Regions from separate parts of the Homo sapiens genome. Here region 1 is linked to region 2. Evidence: promoter capture Hi-C in 16 types of primary human blood cells and fetal thymus (Javierre and others, 2016). All regions are on one chromosome and are shown on one strand. The core of a region is centred on a gene start or on the middle of the fragment in contact, and the rest is flanking DNA. Distances in the headings are between cores, read along the strand shown.

Region 1 (6,830 bases), core at 3,230-5,729, 360 kb before region 2:
TCAGCCTCCCGAGTAGCTGGGACTACAGGCATGCACCACCACATCCGGCTAATTTAGAGAAGTTTTTTTTTGTATAGACAGGGTCGTAGTATGTTGTCTAGGCTGGTCTCAAACTCCTGAGCTCAAGTGATCCTCCCACCCTGGCCTCCCAAAGACCCAAAGACTACAGACCTGAGCCACCATGCCCACCTGTTTTCTTGACAGGACTTGCATATGACAAGCTCTCTGCTTCTCCTCACCTATGCATTGCAAGCCAGGTCAGAGGCAGGTTAAACACCTTAAGGACATGTTAGGACAAGTGGCATACAAGGGAAAAAAACCCGTTCATTTAAGTTACAGAAACAGAAAAAAAAAAACTGGCTTATTCCCACACTTACTCTACTCAAAGCTTTGAGAAGACTAATTTTGGCATCCTCTGGCTAAATACAAAACAACAAAACAAAACAAGGCAAACTCTTTCAGCAAGAGCTGTGGGGGAAGGGACTATAAGGGACACACACAACTGACAGGCAAAAGCTCTGAGCACGTGATTGCTAAGTTTAATTCAACTGTTACACCCCATTCTGCCTTGTAAAAATAACAAAACGCTCCTATCAAAATGACATTGTGATGTGAGTACAGGCTTTTTGTTTTGGTACAGCTCTAAAAAATGTTGGCACCGAATGCACTTAAGAAAAGTGTTAAGGCTTAATACAAATACAGAGACGAGTCATTTCTCAATGCAGCTTAGAGGGTGAGAACAGGATGCTAGGTTTTTAAATCTTCCAAATACAGGCAGTCCCCAACGTACAGACATACAGGACACCTCCCAAATGTAAACGACAGCCACACAGCAGGGCTTGCATGCGCAGGAACTCTTCTTCTCCCAGTGAGCAGACTAAGCACTCTGAATCCCACCCCACTGCCTCGCAGAGGGAAAGAAGGCAGGACAGATGCAAGAAGAGTAATGTCAGGGGCTCCATCACAGCTGCCCAGGGGCTTCTGCTGTAGTTCATATTTTCCTCATTCCCATCTCTGGTTTCTCCCATAACCCAGAAGTCCCTGCCAGGGGCGGAAGTAAAGAGCTTTTCCTCTCACCTAGCGGACTGCAAGGGCTGGGAGAATCACAGGGCCCAGTACCGTCACGTCCTATTTCTTCCTGGCAATCTGATTTGGAATTCGTGAATCATTTTCTCAATAAAAAAACAGAAGTTATAAATGGTAGTTCATTTCCACCATTAAACTGTTTCCTTTCAAGTTGCATCAATGACTTTGAAGCACAAACCACCTGAAGTGTGTGTAGAGTCACACAGAGTGTTTCTTGGCTCCAAAGTCTACAGGCAATCAAAAGGGGGAAGCTGTCTTTGGTTGACAAAGCCTTGTGCAGACCCCAGTGTGCCAGGTGTAGGAAGGGGAGCTTGGCAGGCGGCTCCTGCAGGCACTTAAGCAGTGAGGCAGCATGAGCCTGACTGAACATGGCTGCTGCTTTTCTGAAGTTTAATAATGATGATGTTTCTAGCACCAAGCATTAGCTTTGTAGGCACTCAGAGCAAAGCTGCTGCCGCCACCCAGACGTTCTCCTCTGTTAACAGATGCCCACCCAAGGGCAGCATGAGAACTGGGCCTGCAGCCCTTGAGGGGGATGGGCAGAGGCTTCTGCCTGAAGATGAAAGCACCACCACCTTTGCCATCCCATTAGCTGAGTGAGCAAAGCTCAGGGAATTGGACAGGTGTGACTTTGCTACTGAACTCCTTCATCTCCTGGCCTAAGGTCTCTAGTCTCTTCTGGAAGCTTGTTTGTGAGTTAGATCCAGAAGTTCTATAAAGCTTTGTAGAGGGTGGCCTCCACAGCTCTTCTTCCTCTTTGGTGTACCTGAACAATTGACTTTTTTCTGGAAAGGTGTCAGAAACAGACCAGAGTCAACAATCATTTATGTAAAGCTGGTATTTAAAATTTAGCTTTTTAGATATTATTAAAGAATCCAAACCTAAGAACCCAAGGTTCCCAAGCATCTCTTCTTTCCACCAACCAATTAAGGAATAAAGAAAGACACAGGAAGAATTTAAACAAGCCACTTACTCGGAAATATCTGAATAGATTTTTAAAGTCCCGCAGAGGTCAGCGGGCCTCATTTATGGGAAGAACTGTGACTTGTGAAGGGAACTGTCTACATCACTGGAGAACAACAAACGCCTAAACTTAAGGCTGATGAGAGGAAAAAAGCAAGAATTCACAAGCAAAACTGGCATGTAAAGGACCAAGACCAGCCCTGTGTGAAAGACAGGCAGATTCCAACATGAGATCAGATCAGGCCGAGGTTTCAGATGGCAGGAACTGGGCACTTCAGAGGGTCAGGGCACCAAAACAATCTTCCATGAAGTAGAAGACGGATAACTATTATTATTTGGTTTTTTGAAAGCTGCCGAGGAAAAGCAATCAAGATGTTTCAAGAAAAGACTACAGAACAATATGCTGGGGGTAAAATGAAGTGGGGATGCTGGATTTAGCAGCCGTGATCTCCAGAATGGAAGCGGTTCTGCTAAGAGGTCAATATACTGTTAGTGTTTCTGCTTACGCCTCCTCCATCCCACAGCAGCAGTGGACAGGCTGTTTTGGTTTCTTTCAGTCATTCCTAGACATCCAATCAGCTGGCGGGCTGTTGATCCAAGGACCATGCCCTGCCCCACCTCCCCACCCTCACCCCCCTTCCAGTTCCTCTCAAACCTGGACTACACATGAGTGATGGCCAGGGGTGCCCCATTTCATCCCCACAGAGGCATCTCCCAGCCATCTGGAAGGCACGGGTCTCCAAGCAGCTGTCATGACGGCCAGGAGACGCTGAGCAGCCAGGCTCACATAAGACTAACCCTCTTCCCACCCCGCTCATTTGGGCAAAAGGAAATGAAAACATGGCTACCCTATCTCTTGAGTTTCTGGTCTGGCTCCGGGTGGAGCAGTGGCTTCTCTTAGTAGAAGGAGATGCTGGATTTGCCTCCCGGTGGGTTCAGGACCTTGTTGTGAGAGCGAGGCCGCGGCCCCAGCCGGGGCTCATGGCTGTCGACTGTGGGCATGGGCTCCTGCTCCTTGGCGGGGCCTGCTTTTCTGGCGCTGCCTTTCTCACCTGGCTCTGCTCCAGCCGGGATGCTCCTTGCAGCTGTGGGACACAAAGTTAGAACAACATCCCATTAGAGGCAACCCATGACCCTGACAGGCAGGCTGTGGAAATAAAAAGTGTGTCATAGAGCAACCTGCAAGAAATTCATGCTGTAACTGGGAAAGAGAAGACAATATAGACAGGCTTTTCATCTGGTACCAAAACAACTCACTGTAATTAGCAGATGCAGTTTTGAAATGGGCATAAAGTTGGGGCTTGCTACTGTAAATACTCCTTGATTTCTTCCTAAGTGAATTGTTTCTTTATATTGCTTGTTAGACACCACTCCCATTTCTTCCATCTCAAGTATAGAAAGCAAGCCCCTGAGAGTGACCATGAGGCGGCGAGGGAATGCATCCTAGGTGAGGGCTTAGCAAGGCAAAGGCAGGCTCTGTTGCTGTTACCCTGGGCTTTTCAAAGGTGAATGAAATCCCACAAATCTTGGTCATTAGTTAAGGGAAATGGAGACCCAAAGGCAGAAACCGATGCCCATGGTCAGGCTAAAGAGCCGTGGGGAGAGTCGAAGTCTGCCGCTCAACCTGAGCAGTGGCTCACTCCCCCGGGGTGACTCACCATGGAGACACCCGCCTCCCCATCCTCCATCCCTCTCTTGTGCCCCTCTCTTCTCGATTAGTTCTGCCAGCTCTATGCTTGGTCATGAGTTCACTGAAGGTTTGGGATCCCTGCCCATCACTACACAGATGAGCTTCTAGGAGACGACCCCATGGCCCTGGGCCTAGGCTGATGAGCAAGACAACCAAGTCCCAGGGTTTCACCCTAGCCTTCTTCAAATGCTGAATCCTCTTGCAGTGGATACACCTGAGCTCGTTTTAATCAGGTGGCCCAGAAGGTGCAAAGAAAGACTCCTTTTCATTCCCAGAGGAGAGACTAGCAACTCTTCCAGAAATAATGAGGCCACTCAGGAGAAGGGAAAGAAAACAAAAGCTCACCTTTAAGATCCGATTTTGGTTCTTCTCCTTCACATAAGAAAACATGATCCTGCAACAAGGCAAACCACCAAATCAGGACTCACTCAGAAAATTTTACCCTCATTCAAATGGACAATGAAAATCAGGACCATATAACCTTTTAATTTACAAAAATGCTTGTATATCTGACCTCAGGACCCCCCCAATCCTCTACAGACTATTCTGAAACAAACCTGATATTTCATTTATCCATACATATTTCAAGATGTAGCTCTTAAAACATCCTTTAAAAAATAACAGTAGCACCCTCAAAACTGCGAATATTAATGATTCCTTAAATATCAAAGTCAATTTTTTTTTTTTTTTTGGAGACAAGAGTCTTGTTCAGTCATTCAGGCTAGAGTGCGGTGGCATGATCTTGGCTCACTGCAGCCTCTGCCTCCTGGGCTGAAGCGATCCTCACATCTCAGCCTCCCGAGTAGTGGGGACTACAGGCGTGAGCCACCACACCTGGCTAATTTTTCTATTTTTTGTAGAGACAGGGTTTTGCCACGTTGCCCAGCTCATCTCAAACTCCTGGACTCAAGTGATCTGCGTGCCTCAGCCTCCCAAAGTGCTGGGATTATAGGCGTGAGCCACTGTGCCCAGCCTCAAAGTCAAATTTTTAAATACTGGCATAATATTTCATCCATGCTGTAATATTTCATCCATAATAATTTCATCCATGCTGTAGCGTGTGTCAATGCTCCATTCCTTTCTATGGCTGAGTAATATTCCATTGTATGGACAGACCACATGTTGTTTACCCATTCATCTGTTGATGGACAAATGAGTCATTCCCGCCCTTGGGCTACTGTGAATAATCCTGGTGCAAGGATCTAGTGTTTGACTCCTTGTTTTCAAATCTTGTGAGTACGTACTTAAGAGTGGAATTATTCGGTCATATGGTAATCCTGTTTAACTCTGAGGAACTGGCAGTATCCACAGCCACTGCACCATCTTCCAATCCCACTAGCAATGCACGAGGGCTCCAGTTTCTCTGCATCCTCACCAACTCGTATTTTCCATTTTTACATCACACCATCCGAACAGGCATGCACTGGCATCTCACGGGTTTCTGATGTGCATGTCCCCAGTTATTAATAACACTGACCATCTTTTCGGGTGGTTTTTGGCTGCTTGTATCTCTTCTTTGGAGAAATGTATATTCAAGTCCACTACCATTTTTGAATTGGGTTTGTTATTTCGTTGTTGAGTTGTAGGCATTCTTTATGTATTCTGGATAGTAACTCCTTATCAGAAATGATTTGCAAATATTTCCTCCCATTCTGCGAGTTATCTTTTCACTTTTTTTTTTTTTTGACACGGAGTCTCACTCTGTTGCCCAGGCTGGAGTGCAGTGGCGCAATCTCGGCTCACTGCGCCCTTTGCCTTCTGGGTTCAAGCAATTCTCTTGCCTCAGCCTCCAGAGTAGCTGGGAGTACAGGCGCCCAGCTACTTTTTTTGTATTTTTAGTAGAGACGGGGTTTCACCATGTTAGCCAGGATGGTCTTGATCTGACCTCGTGATCCGCCTGCCTCAGCCTCCCAAATTGCTGGGATTACAGGTGTGAGCCACTGTGCCCAGGCTTTTTTGTTTGTTTTTTGTTTTTTTGAGACAGAGTCTCATTCTGTCACTCAGGTTGGAGTGCAATGGCGCAGTCTCAACTCATTGCAACCTCAGCCTCCCAGGTTCAGTTGATTCTTCTGCCTCAGTCTTCCGAGTACCTGGGATTACAGGCATCCACCATCATGCCCGGCTAGTTTTCGTATTTTTAGTAGACATGGGGTTTCACCATGTTGGCTAGGCTGGTCTCGAACTCTTGACCTCAGGTGATCTGCCCACCTCGGCCTCCCAAAGTGATGGGATTACAGGTGTTAGCCACTGTGCCTGGCCTGTTTTCATTCTTTATAGTGTCCTTTGATGCACAGAAGTTTATAACTTTAATGAAGACCTATTTATTTACTTATTTTTTCAGACAGTCTTGCTTGTTGCCCATGCTGGAGTGCAGTTGCATGATCTTAGCTCACTGCAACCTCTGCCTCCTGGGCTCAAGTGATCCTCCCAACTCAGCCTCCTGAACAGCTGGGACCACAGGTGTGCACCACCATGCCCGGGTAATTTTTTGTATTTTTGTGGAGAAGGGGTTTTGTCATGCTGCCCAGGCTGGTCTCAAAATCCTAGGCTCAAGCAATCTGCCTGCTTCAGCCTCCCAAAGTGCTGGGGTTATAGGCATGAGCCACTATGCCTAGGCTTTTTATAATTTTTTTGAGACAGGATCTCATTCTGTCACCCAGGCTGGAGTGCAAATGGCAAAATCACTGCTCTCTGCAGCCTTGAACAACTGGGCTCAAGCAATCTTCCCACCTCAGCCTCCCAGGTAACTAGGACCACAGGTGCACGCAACCATACGCAACTGATTTTTTTTTTTTTTTTTGGGACGGAGTTTCGCTCTTGTTGCCCAGGCTGGAGTGCAATAGCACGATCTCAGCTCACTGCAACCTCCACCTCCTGGGTTCAAGCGATTCTCCTGCCTCAGCCTCCCGAGTAGCTGAGATTACAAGCATGTGCCACCAGGCCCGGCTAATTTTATACTTTTAGTAGAGACGGGGTTTCTCCATGTTGGTCAGGCTGGTCTCGAACTCCCGGCCTCAGGTGATCCGCCTGCCTCGGCCTCCCAAGGTGCTGGGATTACAGGCATGAGCCACTGTACCCAGCCCCCAGCTAG
Region 2 (6,512 bases), core at 356-2,855:
GCTCCCTGGCTGTCCCCCAGGCCTGGGCTGAATGGGGAATGACATTTTGCAAGGAGGATGGCACATCTCATTTCACAGCCCAGGGTGGGGGCGACTTGCCCAGAGCCCAGATGTGAACCTGGGACTCTTAAGCCAAGCTGTCTCCTGCCAGGCCATTTGGGGGCTCAGGGTTGGGGGCAGTGAGGCAGCTGAGTCTGGGGGCAGCGGAGCAGAGGCTGGGTCAGCCTTCCTCCCCAGTGCAGGCTGTCTAGGAACAAACGCCTTCAACGTGTTGGGGGCGCCCTTCTTACCACATTTGGGGCAGGGGGTTAGCTGATGGTGCCCTGGGTGTGTGCCTGGGGCGGGAGGTGGCAGGACATCTGCCCCACAGGCTGGCTCTCCACGCTGCCCTCTTGGTCTTCTCTCCAGCTTCCCTGCTCTTCCTCCCTCAGCCCCCCGACTCCCCTTCACCAGGCCCTGGGGGTTTCCCGCAGGAATCTCTCCCTGGTCTCACCGACTCCTCCAGATGGCCCCTGCGAAGCCGATGGCGGTGCCCAGGTGCAGGTCACCTGGCGGGCCCGCTGCAAACGCTGCTCCCCGGGGTCTCATTCCAGTCGAACCCCGGGAATCTGCATTCTAACAAGCGCTGCCGGTGGCCTTGGGCTCCCCGAAGCCTCAGACGGCTGCCAAGGTCCAGCCGCTGGCGCCCAGCAGGAGCGCAGGAGACCGGAGCCCGAGGCGCCTTCTTCCTCCCCTCGCCCGTGTCTGCGCAGCGCTCCCTCCTCCCTCTGCTCACCGACCCCCTCCCTGCCCCGCCTCGCGGCACCCCCTTTCCCGGGGCCCCGGGCGCCCGCAGGAGCCACACCCCCAGTTCTATGGGGGTCTCTCCCCTCGGAGGGGGCGGGCGGTCCGGGGTGAGTCTGGGGGCGGGTCTAGTGTGTCACTTTAAACTCCTCCCCCGGAGACCCCGGCCCAGGCAAGAGCCCACAGCCCTTTGCCGAGTGGGGCTGAAGGAGGGGCCGCTTTGCACTCGCAGGGATTTCGGGGGGACTAAAGGGCCTTACGAGGACCTGCGGGAGGAGGGAAGGGACGAGGACGCTGGGGGGTGCAGCCCGCCCGGGAGGGGTGCTGGGAGGCCCCGGGCCCGTCTGCTCCCCCGGGGAGGGAGGCGCGGGGGTCGAAGCCTCGCTTGGCGGCTCAAGTGCGGGGGAGGCCGTCGCCAGCGCCCGGATACCCTCCCCGTCCGCTCCGCAGTGCGGACCCCACCGCCGCACCCTCTCCTGCGCGTTCGGAGGGGAAATGCCCCCGAGACCCCGCCCCTCCAAGCATGCGCGGCCTCAGTTTCCCCAGGGCCGAGGGGACGTCGAGACCTTCCCACCGCCCCCCGCCTCGGAGGCCACCCCCGTGCCTCCTGGGGGACCCGGACCAAGGGGGCGGCGGCCGTCGGTCCGTCCGGGTTGGGGCGCGGGGCCGAGCCCAGACGGCGGCCCAACAGCACTGGCCGCAGCCCGCGGCACTTACCGTGGGCCGGCGCGGGGATGGGGGGGCTCCTGGGGCGCTGCGCTCGGCACCAGCTCGGGGACGCCGAGGCACAGCTACCGCTCCCAGCCGCGCGCGCCGACGACTGAGCAACTGCTGGGCGGACGCCGCTGCGGGGGCGGGGTCTGACTGGGGGCGGGGCCGGGCCTGACCGGGGCGGGGCCTGACCGCGCTCGCCCCGCCCCCCGCGTCCACGGCGCCTTAGGGGACCCGGCCGGGGTCTCCGTGCCTTGAGCCGGGCCGGAGCCCCCTCCCCCGGGATGCGGGGCTGTGAGTCAACCCACAGGTGGCTGCGGGACGGGGAGCGGGCTTGGCTGCCTCGGGACCCCGCCTGGCCGCGCGCGCCCTCCCCGTGGCGCGTGGGGTCTAGAAGGGGGTGGTCGGCGGGGTCTCCTCCGCGGACCCCAGGGAAGCCACGGTCACGAAGACCAGCAGCGGTGCAGACCTTTCTGGAAGGGCCTGACTCAGGGACACCTCGCGGGCCCCGCCGCTCTCTTCTCGGGGCGGGGATGCGTCCTGCAGGGATCCACTCGGGACGCCCCACGCCCACGCGGACGGTCTGTGGGGCGATCGTCCCTGGGGCTCTGGTGAGGGCCCAGTTGGCGCTTGTGGGGTCACAGCCGGCCAGAGCCCCCGGAGCCCCTGGGGTCTGCACTGGACCCCGCCAGCCCCTCCCGGGTGGCTCCCCGCTCTTCCTCCGCTGCGCTGTCCTGGAACCCCAGCGGGCCCGCGGTCTCCTGCAGGGTTTGTTAAGGCATTGATGGGTCCTGTCCCCAACCCGCTGGTCCCGAAGTCTGGGTGGGGGCGCGATCTGCGTTTTTTCCCTTTTTTTTTCAGACAGAGTCTCGAAAAAGCTCTCAAAAATAGCTCTCAACCAGGTTGGAGCGCAGTGGCACCATCTCCACTCGCTGCAACCTCGAACTCTCCGGCTCAAGTGGTCCTCCCGCTTCAGCCTCCCCAGTAGCTGGGACCACCCGCCGGCTAATGTTTTTTGGTTTCTTTTGTGGAGATGGGGGTCTCCCTATGTTGCCCAGGCTGGTCTCAAACTCCCAGGCTCAAGGGATCCCCCTTCCCCGGCCTCCTAAGGCGCTGAGATCACAGGTGTGGTCCCCACGCCAGCCAGCGCCTGCACTTCCCAGCTCCAGTCTGCTGCCGCCAGTCCAGGGACCACACTTTGAGAAGTCCGTGCTAAGCATGGTCCTGTCGGGGGCCTGAGGCTCTCAGACTTGCCGAGGGCGCAGCGGCCCCCCGGTCGCACCTGCCCTTGGTCGAATACAGCTGGACACTCGCAGCCCTTTGGGGACAAGGGGTGGGGGGTGGTCAGACTTTGGAGTTTTCACCCGAAGGGCACCTGGGCAGCCCAAGGCCAGACAGGCTTCCAGAACACAGCTCTTCAAAGGGAGGGGGCCCGTCTGCCAACAACTGTCTTGGCTTCTGGATCCCAACTCACTCAAATCCATGCCCGCCCCACACCTGTCTGTGCAGGATCGGGGGCAGGACCCCTGGGTGGGCTCTCCTTCGGGACGCTCGGCCCAGGCTCTGCCGGATCCTGACCCAGCACAGCCAGGCCGGTGGGGGAGGGCAGGGAGCTTGCAGGAAATGCAGGGACTGGCTGGGACAGGGACGCGGTGGGGGAAGCAGGGGAGGGGGCCTGGGCCCTCAGCCCCACTCTGTAGCAGTGTTCTCCTGAGGGGCTGGTGGGTCTGGAGACCGGGTCTGGGAGTGACGCCCCTGCCTCTGCGGTCTTGCACCAGGTTCTGCCCACCTGTTGGAACAAACACAGGCCGGTTGCCATGGTGATCACACTGGCTTTAAGTGAAGGGACAGGCTCTGCAGCTACGGTAAACAGGAAGTTGGGAGGGGCAGCCGCTGCTCCGGCCCCTACGAGAGCACCAACCCTGAAACCAACACTGCAGTCCGTTGGGTGCGGGAGCACCCTTGGAGACCTCTCCCCACTCTTTTCTAGGTAGGGAGACTGGAGTCCGGAGACGGGAAAGGGCTTTTCCAGGGCCACATAGTGATAGGTTGAGTCCCAAACCAGCCCTGGGCCTCCGTTTCCCCAGGAGAGGACGGTCACTAGGACTGTCCCCTCCACAAACATTTGGTGAGGAGTCGAGGAATGAACGATCCGAGCGACACCCCACTCAGTGACCAAGGCCTTCATTCTCCAACTTGTTCTGAGGCTGAAGACAGGCTGACCTGGATCAAAGTCCCAGCACCCTGCTCACCCCTGCCCCAGGGCGACCCTCCACTGCCCGGGCCTCAGTTTCCCTCTTCTGTAAAATGGGGACAACAGCAGCACCCACCTTGGGTGCAGCTGGGGGACCTCAGTGAGCCAGTCTCAACTCACAGCAGGTCAGCCTCAGTCCCAGTTGGTGGGGATGGGAACTGCAGCCACCCAGCCAGAACTCCGGCCCCTCCAGTGACCCAATTTACCTTTCCATAGCTTGGGGCTGGAAGCCCATCCTCGCGTGAGTCCCCTCCCACTAAGAGAGAGGGCAGGAGAGTGGGCCGCCCACCCTCCCCACCCTGAGCCCCAGGCCTCACTCTGAAGGGGCTACCCTGGCGTCTCTGCCTTCGGACCGGAGTGCAGACAGCTGCCGTGCTCCGGGGACAGTGAGGGGATGGCGCAGGTGCAGGAACACCTCCCACCGATGTGTCGGGACACGAGACCCCCTGCCCAGACGGGGTCAGAGCTTGAGGAGGCTGCTGGGGCACCAGGGCTGCTTGTGCAAAGCTGAGAAAAGCCATTTTTCAAGCCTGGCTCTTTTCACATTCTCAGGACTTTGTGCTGGAAAGGGTCTGGCAGGCAGGGAGAGTAGCTTTTCCTCCTTAGGGCCGGGCCGGTGGCGGGGGGCGGAGATGGGGGGGCAGGTAAAAACACCAGGCTCTGGATACGCAGGCGCCAAAGCCGCTGAAGCACACAGGTGAGGCCATGGCAGAGTTAGACAGCCCCTCCTGTTCCACGCTCATGAGCACAGCGCAGGGCCCAGTGCTACCACCCTCTGGTGGCAGCCCTAGAAATTGCAGGCACAGCCTCCCAGAATCTGCCCCCAACTTCCCTCTGAGGACCCAAGCAAGGAAGGGCAGGGTCCTTGGAGAGCTCGTGGGGTCAGAGCCCAGGGACTCTGGCCAGGGACCCTGCCTGCCCCGGAGCTGGAGGACCCTGAAGACTGCCAGAACCTGTTCCTTGCCCCATCAAGAGAGGGGCTCTGGGTGGGAGGGCCTCAGCCCAAGTCTGGCCTCATGCCTGAGATGCTGGTCTCCAGATCCCACACCAGAAGCTCCGGGAGTCCTGCTGCCACGCGTGCACAGGTGGGGCCGGCTGGAGGTGACCACCCAGTGTCACGCTGGAGTTCTCTCAGGCCTCCGTGCTAGTAGCAGCATCTGTGAGGGGTCCAGGGCAGGGCAGGGACAAAGAAGTGGGCCCAAGACAGGGTCCTACCAAGCCCCCAAACAAAGGCCATTGGTGTGCCAGAGCCCTGCAGGCAGGACAGCCCCTGCTGCGGTGAGGCTTGGATGGCAGGGAGGATGGCACCCTGTCCCCTGGCCCCGCCTCCCACCAGCCTGAGGGTGGGGGTGTCAGAGGCCCCTTCCCAGCGAGATGGGCTTCTGTGCTCACTGTGGTTAGGGGCCCAGCAGGGAGAGGCCAGGCCCTCAGTGTGCATCCTTCTGTGCAGAGCTGGGGTTGGGAGGCGACTCCTCCCAGCTCTGGGGGCTTCAGAGTCCCTCCTTTTCTTTTTTTTTTTTGAGATGGAGTCTTGCCCTGTTGCCCAGGCTGGAGAGCAGTGGTGTGATTTCGGCTGTAACCTCTGCCTCCTGGGTTCAAGTGATTCTCCTGCCTCAGCCTCCCGAGTAGCTGGGACTACAGGCGCCCGCCACCATGCCCAGCTGATTTTTGTATTTTTTTGTTTTTTTTTTTCAACTGGTAATCAATTTATTAAAATAGTTGACTTAAGCATCTGCAATGGTGACTTCCACTTCAACTCCTGGCTCAATACTGATGGAAGTAATCTGCTTAACAATCTCAGAAGGACTGTGCAAGTCAATGAGTTGCTTATGGATGCTCATCTGGAGTTTTTTTTTTTATAAGTTTTTTTTTGAGATGGAGTCTTGCTCCGTCGCCCAGACTGGACTGCAGTGGCGCGGTATTGGCTCACTGCAAGCTCTGCCTCCCAGGTTCACGCCATTCTCCTGCTTCAGCCTCCCAAGTAGCTGGGACTACAGGCACCTGCCACCATGCCCAGCTAATTTGTTTGTATTTTTAGTCGAGATGGGGTTTCACTGTTAGCCAGGATGGTCTCAATCTCCTGACCTCGTGATCTGCCCGCCTCGGCCTCCCAAAGTGCTGGGATTACCGGCGTGAGCTGTAACCTGGCCTCATCTGGAGTTTTTCTTGTAGTGATTCTCAAAGTGTTGGTAGGATTCAAACCGGTCCTTTCACTTTGAGATTCTTTTCCTTTGTGCCTCTGATCAAGTCAGCACACACCTTTTCAAGTGATTTTATGCTGTAGCTCGTTAGAGTGATTCAGATTTGGTGAATTTTGGTGAATTTGGTGAATTTGGCGAATTTGGTGAATTTTGGTGAATTTGGTGAATTTTGGTGAATTGCCATCTCCGGCTCCTTGGGTGTTTTTCTGGTATCCTTAAAAGCCAAAAGAATTTTTTAGGCCGGGCGTGGTGGCTCACACCTGTAATCCCAGCACTTTAGGAGGCCGAGGTGGGCGAATCACGAGGTCAGGAGTTCGAGACCAGCCTGGCCAACATAGTGAAACCTCGTCTCCACTAAAAATACAAAAATTAGCCAGGTGTGGTGGCGTGTGCCTGTAGTCCCAGGCACTCGGGAGGCTGAGGCAGAAGAATCGCTTGAACCCGGGAGGTGGAGGCCGCAGCGAGCCGAGATCGCCCCACCACACACCAGCCCGGGCGACAGTGTTAGACTTCGTCTCAAAAAATAAATAAATTTTTAAAAAATAATAATAAAGCCATAGCTG

The links. The method cuts DNA at HindIII sites, captures the fragments that hold promoters and counts their contacts. A CHiCAGO score of 5 or more calls a contact.
Region 1: a contact is called between a fragment that was not itself captured here and the fragment with the promoter of BAIAP3 in region 2, in 2 of 17 cell types (endothelial precursors and naive B cells). The highest score is 5.4, in endothelial precursors.

What each region holds. Positions count from the first base shown.
Region 1 is chr16:1,695,115-1,701,944 of GRCh38, reverse strand. It overlaps JPT2 (Jupiter microtubule associated homolog 2), which reads right to left. Exons shown (of 5, transcript NM_144570.3): 4 at 4,085-4,133; 5 at 1-3,134. The coding sequence ends at 2,947. Among named protein-coding and RNA genes, the nearest start is that of MAPK8IP3, 7.7 kb to the left of the region's middle. The HindIII fragment of the contact is 5,342 bases long and covers 1,809-6,830 here.
Region 2 is chr16:1,328,738-1,335,249 of GRCh38, reverse strand. BAIAP3 (BAI1 associated protein 3) reads right to left here and starts at 1,605. Exons shown (of 34, transcript NM_001199097.2): 1 at 1,501-1,605. It also overlaps the pseudogene RPS20P2. RefSeq lists silencers at 1,556-1,715, 2,451-2,651 and an enhancer at 3,428-3,477. The HindIII fragment of the contact is 32,270 bases long and covers 1-6,512 here.